2 separate regions of the Homo sapiens genome follow, and region 2 is linked to region 1. Evidence: promoter capture Hi-C in 16 types of primary human blood cells and fetal thymus (Javierre and others, 2016). All regions are on one chromosome and are shown on one strand. Each heading gives the region's core, a stretch centred on a gene start or on the middle of the fragment in contact. The rest is flanking DNA. Distances are from core to core; before and after follow the strand shown.

What was found. Contacts are between HindIII fragments. The CHiCAGO score rates a contact against its expected background, and 5 or more counts as called.
Region 2: a contact is called between a fragment that was not itself captured here and the fragment with the promoter of OTP in region 1, in 2 of 17 cell types (total B cells and naive B cells). The highest score is 17.5, in total B cells.

The regions. Positions count from the first base shown.
Region 1 is chr5:77,637,024-77,640,202 of GRCh38, forward strand. OTP (orthopedia homeobox) reads right to left here and starts at 1,690. Exons shown (of 3, transcript NM_032109.3): 1 at 1,490-1,690; 2 at 1-207. The coding sequence starts at 1,526. RefSeq lists enhancers at 1,676-2,232, 2,233-2,787. The HindIII fragment of the contact is 2,017 bases long and covers 695-2,711 here.
Region 2 is chr5:79,510,158-79,513,336 of GRCh38, forward strand. HOMER1 (homer scaffold protein 1) reads right to left here. Exons shown (of 9, transcript NM_004272.5): 1 at 2,613-3,179. The coding sequence starts at 2,617. It also overlaps the pseudogene RPL29P15. Among named protein-coding and RNA genes, the nearest start is that of HOMER1, 2.4 kb to the right of the region's middle. The HindIII fragment of the contact is 1,134 bases long and covers 880-2,013 here.

The DNA of each region.
Region 1 (3,179 bases), core at 440-2,939:
TGTCCGGGTCTTTGGCGCTCACCGCCAGCGAGGCCGGAGTAGAGCCCACTGTGGTGATGTCCTCCCCGGGCAGCAGAGTGGCTCCCTCCACTGGGTCAGAGTTGGGCGCCAGGTCCCCCGGATGGCCCCCGGGGTCGGAGCCCCCCACGCCCAGCCTACACTTCACCGCCTCCCGGTGGCCCAGAAGCTCGGCGGCATCTTTCATACCTGAGGAGGCAAGGGGATCGCGGTCACTACTTTCTTGGCGATGCCAGGAGGGGCTGTCTTCCCCGCGCAGCCTTCCTTCAACCCGTCCTCGGCCCCCTCCGCACCCGCGCTTGTCCTAAGGAAGAAACTCCCAGGGTATTCAGCTGGGTTCCCCAGAATTTGGACAGCCGGGTTGGAATAATATCTCCCGGCCCCTTGCCCTCGCCGCAGCCGGCTCCCGTAGTAAACAGCACAAGCTTTCGTCTCTCCCACAATAAAACACTCCCAGTCCCGGCAATAAAACATGCCTCTGAATCCCTTCCATAAACCGTACCCCAGGCGCCCCAGGAAATCGAGAGCAAATCTTTGGACACAGGGGTGCGGGGGGCAGAAAGAAAATTAAACAATTCCTCGGTTGCTGCGGCACCTGCGCTTCGGCAGCCTGACGAACTGTACCTCCGGCCCTCAGCCGATTCCCTCTTACTTTCGGAAGATGAATAAGCCTCCAAGCTTTCACCCCCCGAAATCAACCCAAATCAGCTCCGCCTCCCCCTCAAATCAGAGAAAGTGTTTGGAAAATGGAGTCACATCCATCACCGAAGATTCCCAATCCGGAAACCCAGAGCTCAGCAACCCAGATAGCATTAAGGAAACTCGAGTGAACTCTATGGACAACCGTGAATCAAACTTTAGAGATTTCAACTTTTCTTTCCAGAGAAATAAAAGGCGCATTCCTCACAGCCATTGGCAACGCTGAGTCCCTTGCAGAAGAGGGGGGGATGACTGTGAGGTTGAATTTGGCTTCTCTCCTTCTCAACCAGCACACTTAGCAAATCCGCCTTGATGGCAGCAGCTTCTCCTTTATGCCAGATTTTTTACAAATTACACCACACTTAGAAAAGGAGGAGAGAAGAAGATGGTGGGGAGAGAGAAACGGGGGGAGGGAAGGAGAAAGAAATCCCAAATCAAAACAAACAGGAGAGGGAAAAAAGAGAGAGAAACACCTCCTAACAAATTATCACGGGGTATATCGCCTTTCGAAAAAAAAAAAAAGGCGGGGGAGGGGGGAAGAGAAAAATAAGAAAAACAAAAAGTAACAACATTCCCCAACTCCTTTCTTGGATCTACATATTCCATAGATTTTTTTTTAAAGGCGATGTTAAATCAAATTAAACTTTAATGCAGCACAATTACTTTTAAAGAAATTAGTCCATTTAGGTCGCATTAAGGTAAAATAAGGAACAAATTGACAATTTCCTGCCCCGGCTTCTCCTGGCTGCCCGGGCGAGAGGCGCGCACTCACCTAGCCTGGCGTCCAGGAGGTCGGCATGAGACAGCATCGCGCACCGCTCCAGGGCGAAAGCTGTTCCCCCCCAAATTTTAGCGGCTTTAAGTTATTTAAAATAGATATAAGCTATAAGCTATACGATATAGATATATATAGATCACCTAAATGAAAGAAAATTCGGTTTGTGGTTAAAAAGGGGGCTTCTTGCATTATAATGTCCTTTAGAGAGACGGGGAGGTGCTTAACAGTTGAATGAACCCGTGAGCAGCTCGGCGAGGGGACCAATCAGGAGGGCAGCCTGCAAATGTCAGCGCCCGGAGAGTCCCCCACTCCGCCCGCCCGCTCGCCTGCGCCCGCCTGAAGGAGGCGGCGGCGGCAGCCCTGGCAGCTCCAGCCCGGAGCAGGAGCTAAAGCAGCCTCAGCCGCCTCGGCCTCGCCCTGAGCTTCTGGGCCCGGCTCCCTCTAGTTCTTCCCTGCGATTTTCTCCAGGCTCCCCTTTCCTTCCCCTTGGCCGGCGCTGCGCGCTTCGAAGGCGTAGCTCTGTGCCTCTGAGCTAACATCTTCCTAGGGCAGGGGCAGAGCAGGGGTCAGAGCGGGCCATGACCCTGGCGTGACCTGAGGGTCGCCCCCACCTGCGCTCTCTGGGCCTGCCGCTCATATTGGCCCGCCAGCCCAGGGCGCGACGAGGGCACACCGCGGCCTTCAGACAACGCCTGGACTTCGCCGCGGCTCAGTAGGCCTGCGCCTAGGGTCCAGGCGCCCTGGCTGTGCCCTGGGGTCTATACGAGCCCCAACCCCACAGTGGGCCTAGAGCGCAAAGAGGAGTCGGCTTCCCTGGCACCGCCAGCGCCCGCTGTCTGCTTTGGGGACCCTCGCGGAGTGTGGGTTCGAGCGCTCTGCACTCTTCTCACCGGGCTTCTTCCCGGCTCCTGCTCTTCCGCTTGGCCCACGCCCGCATCCTCGCCCCTAACTCGCTCTTTTGGTCAAAGTTTCTAAGTTCAGCTCGGCTCCCAACTCCACTTAAGGCTGTAAATAAAGTTAAATGCTCTTTATTTTCCTCTTGAATATGTTAAACTACTTGAACAATTTAAAGTGCTTTGCACAAGTGAAGCGAACCATTTCTAATGTTCTGATTTTTCAGAGCCAGCCAACAACAAAGTTTAGATTAGTAATATATTTCTAACCAGAGTAATTTTCAAGATCATTAGGCATTTATGTAATTAGTGCCAAATCTATAAGCTTTTATTACGATTATTAGAGTAAAATCAGTATAAATTTGTACTAATTTACTACTGTTTAGACTTGGCTGTCAAGCCTAGAGGTTCTTATTGTAAATGATAACTGAGGAAATTAAGTGCAAAATTCTGTACCATTTCTGATCTGCTCCTAAACAATCCGTTTCAATTGTATTTGTAGCAGAACATAATGCCCTTTTAAAGTTATTTGACTTGTATTTTTATTTGCAACACAAGAAAAATGCCCTCTACCCAGTCACAATGAAAACTGATATTTACTACTCCCAACTTGATTAACATTGATTTTTAATTCGAGAGTGATGCAATTAAGATTATTCATTTAGTGCAAATAAACCTTCCACAAAAGGGTGGCCCAATGAAGTCTGTTTTAAATAATACTGAGCAAATGGCTTTTTTTGTTCGCCGTCCAATTGACTTAGACAAAACATTGAAAATGCTGGCTGAGAGCA
Region 2 (3,179 bases), core at 197-2,696, 1.9 Mb after region 1:
TGAGAAAGGGTCATAGCCCCAAATACAGGCTTTCCAAAAAAAAAAAAATAGCACCACAAAATGCTCGCTCCTTTTTCTCCTCAGTCCATATATAGAACTTTATTAACTAAAGGGCAGATACATTCATTTATAAACAAATTAATTATGCTAAGTGTCTAAATGCATGTTATGTGTGGTGCTAACTTTCCCACTTTAAACAACAGCCCCCTTAGTATTAAATTCATCCTGTCTCTTCAGATTCTAGGCGCTTCAGGAGCCGCGCCTTAAGGTGCAGACATGGCCAAGTCCAAGAACCACACCACACACAACCAGTCCCAAAAATGGCACAGAAATGGTATCAAGAAACCCGAAGCACAAAGATACGAATCTCTTAAGGGGGTGGACCCCAAGTTCCTGAGGAACATGCAGTTTGCCAAGAAACACAACAAGAAGGGCCTAAAGAAGATGCAGGCTAACAGTGCCAAGGCCATGAGTGCACATGCCAAGGCTATCAAGGCCCTCCTAAAGCCCAAGGAGGTTAAGCCCAAGATCCCAAAGGGTGTCAGCCGCAAGCTCAACTTGCCTACACTGTCCACCCCAAGCTTGGGAAGCATGCTCGTGCCCGCATTGCCAAGGGGCTCAGGGTGTGCTGGCCAAAGGCCAAGGACAAGGATCAAACCAAGGCCCAGGCTGCAGCTCCAGCTTCAGTTCCAGCTCAGGCTCCCAAAGGTGCCCAGGCCCCTACAGAGGCTTCAGAGTAGATATCTCTATCTGCCAACGTGAGGACAGGACTGGTGCGACCCCCCGCCAGGCTGCCATCTGCATGGGGCTGTGGGGCTGGGGTCCTCCTGTGCTATTTGTACAAAGAAACCTCAGGCAGGGAAAAAAAAATTCATCCTAAGCTTCCCTTGGTAAAATGACAGGCATTCATGCAGCTTAAAGGTTCTGGAAAACTGATTTTCTTCCATGATGCTACTACTCCACAGTCTAGACAAAATGCAGCCATCAACATGAAAAACTGCTGCTTGATTTTTTTTCCTCCAACATGTTTTAAACAGAGCTGCAGATGCTCAAGGGAAGCCATATTTCTAAGGTTTTGAACAGTAGTATTTTTCAGTATTTTTCTCATTTAAAATTGGTGCAATTCATCCAAAACATTTTTCAAATGCCATTATTTTTCAGCGTTAAGCGCTTAAACTGCTTAGAGTGAAAAAGGTCTCCATCAGAAAGATCGACTTGCAGAAACCAACTAGTGATCATTAAAATGAGGAGGAGAATAAAAAGAAAGCAATTCGTTTTTTACAGTTTGGAGAAATCTTTAAGTCATCTCTAAATCGTTCATTTTACAGGTAAGAAATAGAGTCCACAGAGGTCAAGTAATTTGCCTCAGATCACTAAGCTACTAATAGCAGCGCTAGAAATAGAATGAGGTATTTTAATTACTCTTAGCGGTACCCCCAAATCATGCAAGTTATATATATTCTCATCACTTGTCATTCAAGTTTTTAAAACCATTATAACTTTGTCATTAATTTCTGAGGAACGTCTCCTACAACATGCTCTAAATTTTCAAAGTTATGCATGTTAAACTTCAAATTCTAACTCCAAAAGGAAGGTACTATTCAAGAACTTTCCTCAGAAAGTTTCAAGCGTGTGTACACACCTAAACCATCACGATGAATTGCAGAGTCCATTCTTTAAAACATGCCCCTCAACTACACTTCAGATGTGTTTGTTCAACCACACACACACAAAAAGAGAAAATTCTGGAAGTTCTTCTGCCAAAAAGCAGTGACAACCTGTCAATGAAATCAGATTGCTCCATTAATATATTATGGGTTTCCAGCTTAAATTAGGAAGTGTCACTAGCATTTCATCAACCCACAGTGTGAAGAGTTAATAAAAGACTGGAAAATGCACTCTCAGTTGGCTCTGGGTCCGAAGGAAGGTGTAGATCTGATACTGTTAACTCAAACTGAAGGGCTGAGCTTAAAAGCGAAAAACAAAAGGAGTGAACAAGTTCCTTAAACAAAAAGCTTTTTCCTACGAAATGCACCCGTACCGTGGTGACCGCATCAGTAAGACTGAATTTCAGATTTTCGTTTTAACGCCCCAGTAAATCAATTCTATACATTTTAGCTTTGAATATTCAAGGACAAGACAGAGGGCACGGTGAGGGCAACAATTTACTCTGGATCACTTTCAAGGACTGTTGTCTAACCACTCATTAAAATCGTTCCTTTGTGCAACTGATTATCTAAAAGTACTGAGAGAATGCAGTACTTCTCTTTGAAAGATAACCGTCAGCAAAAGCTAAAATAATGTGATTTTGATTACAAACTGATGCAGCAGTCTGACCAGTAAAGTGTAGAATGCGTTGTCTTTGTAAACATTACTCACAAATCCATATTCAAGTTACAAACGATATATGTGTTTTTAAATTATGACCTCTGGTACCGCTCTACAAAAATGCAAAAATAACCTAAAAGGTTAGCATGCCTATTTCTTTAAAGTATGACCAGCTTAGCAAGGTGGCAAGTTTGTTTGAAAACACAAAACACAATCACCACCACCGCTCAATAATACACATACATAAACAGATTCGAAGCTGTGTTAAGCACAAAAATCCTTACCCCATTTTGCCCAATGAAAACTTGCTCTGAAGTTTCAGCTCTTATGCTACGGAATAACTTCCAAAGGAATTTCTCCGTCTGCTATTTCGCAGTTGCTTTTCCACCCCCACCCCCAGATCCTTGTCCGGAGGTATTTCAAGGATGCTGCCAATTCAATTAGTTCTCTTAGGTAAAATGATTTCTCTCTTGTAAATACCAAAACGTTCAAACAGAGGCGGCATTTGCTTATTCGAGTTAAAATGCTTTGCGGAGGAGACAGCGATCAACTCTATTCCACAAAATGAGTCTACAAGTAGGGAAATGCAGAATCCGGCTTCACCGAGTCCTATAAAAAATGAGTTCGCTGGTCATTTCACTCATGTCCTCCTCGACACTCAGGGAGAGCCAGGTAACTCGGCCTTTTCGGAGCTAAGGCTGCGGGTTCAAATTTCTCCACCACACCAGGTCTCCGGGGGTGGAGCGAGCAACCAAACGCGACGTGCACGTGAATAAAAATCCCAAAAGCAGTAATGCCACGGCTTCCCTGCGCTCACATTAGGAAAAAAACTACACAGGAAAATCTCCTCG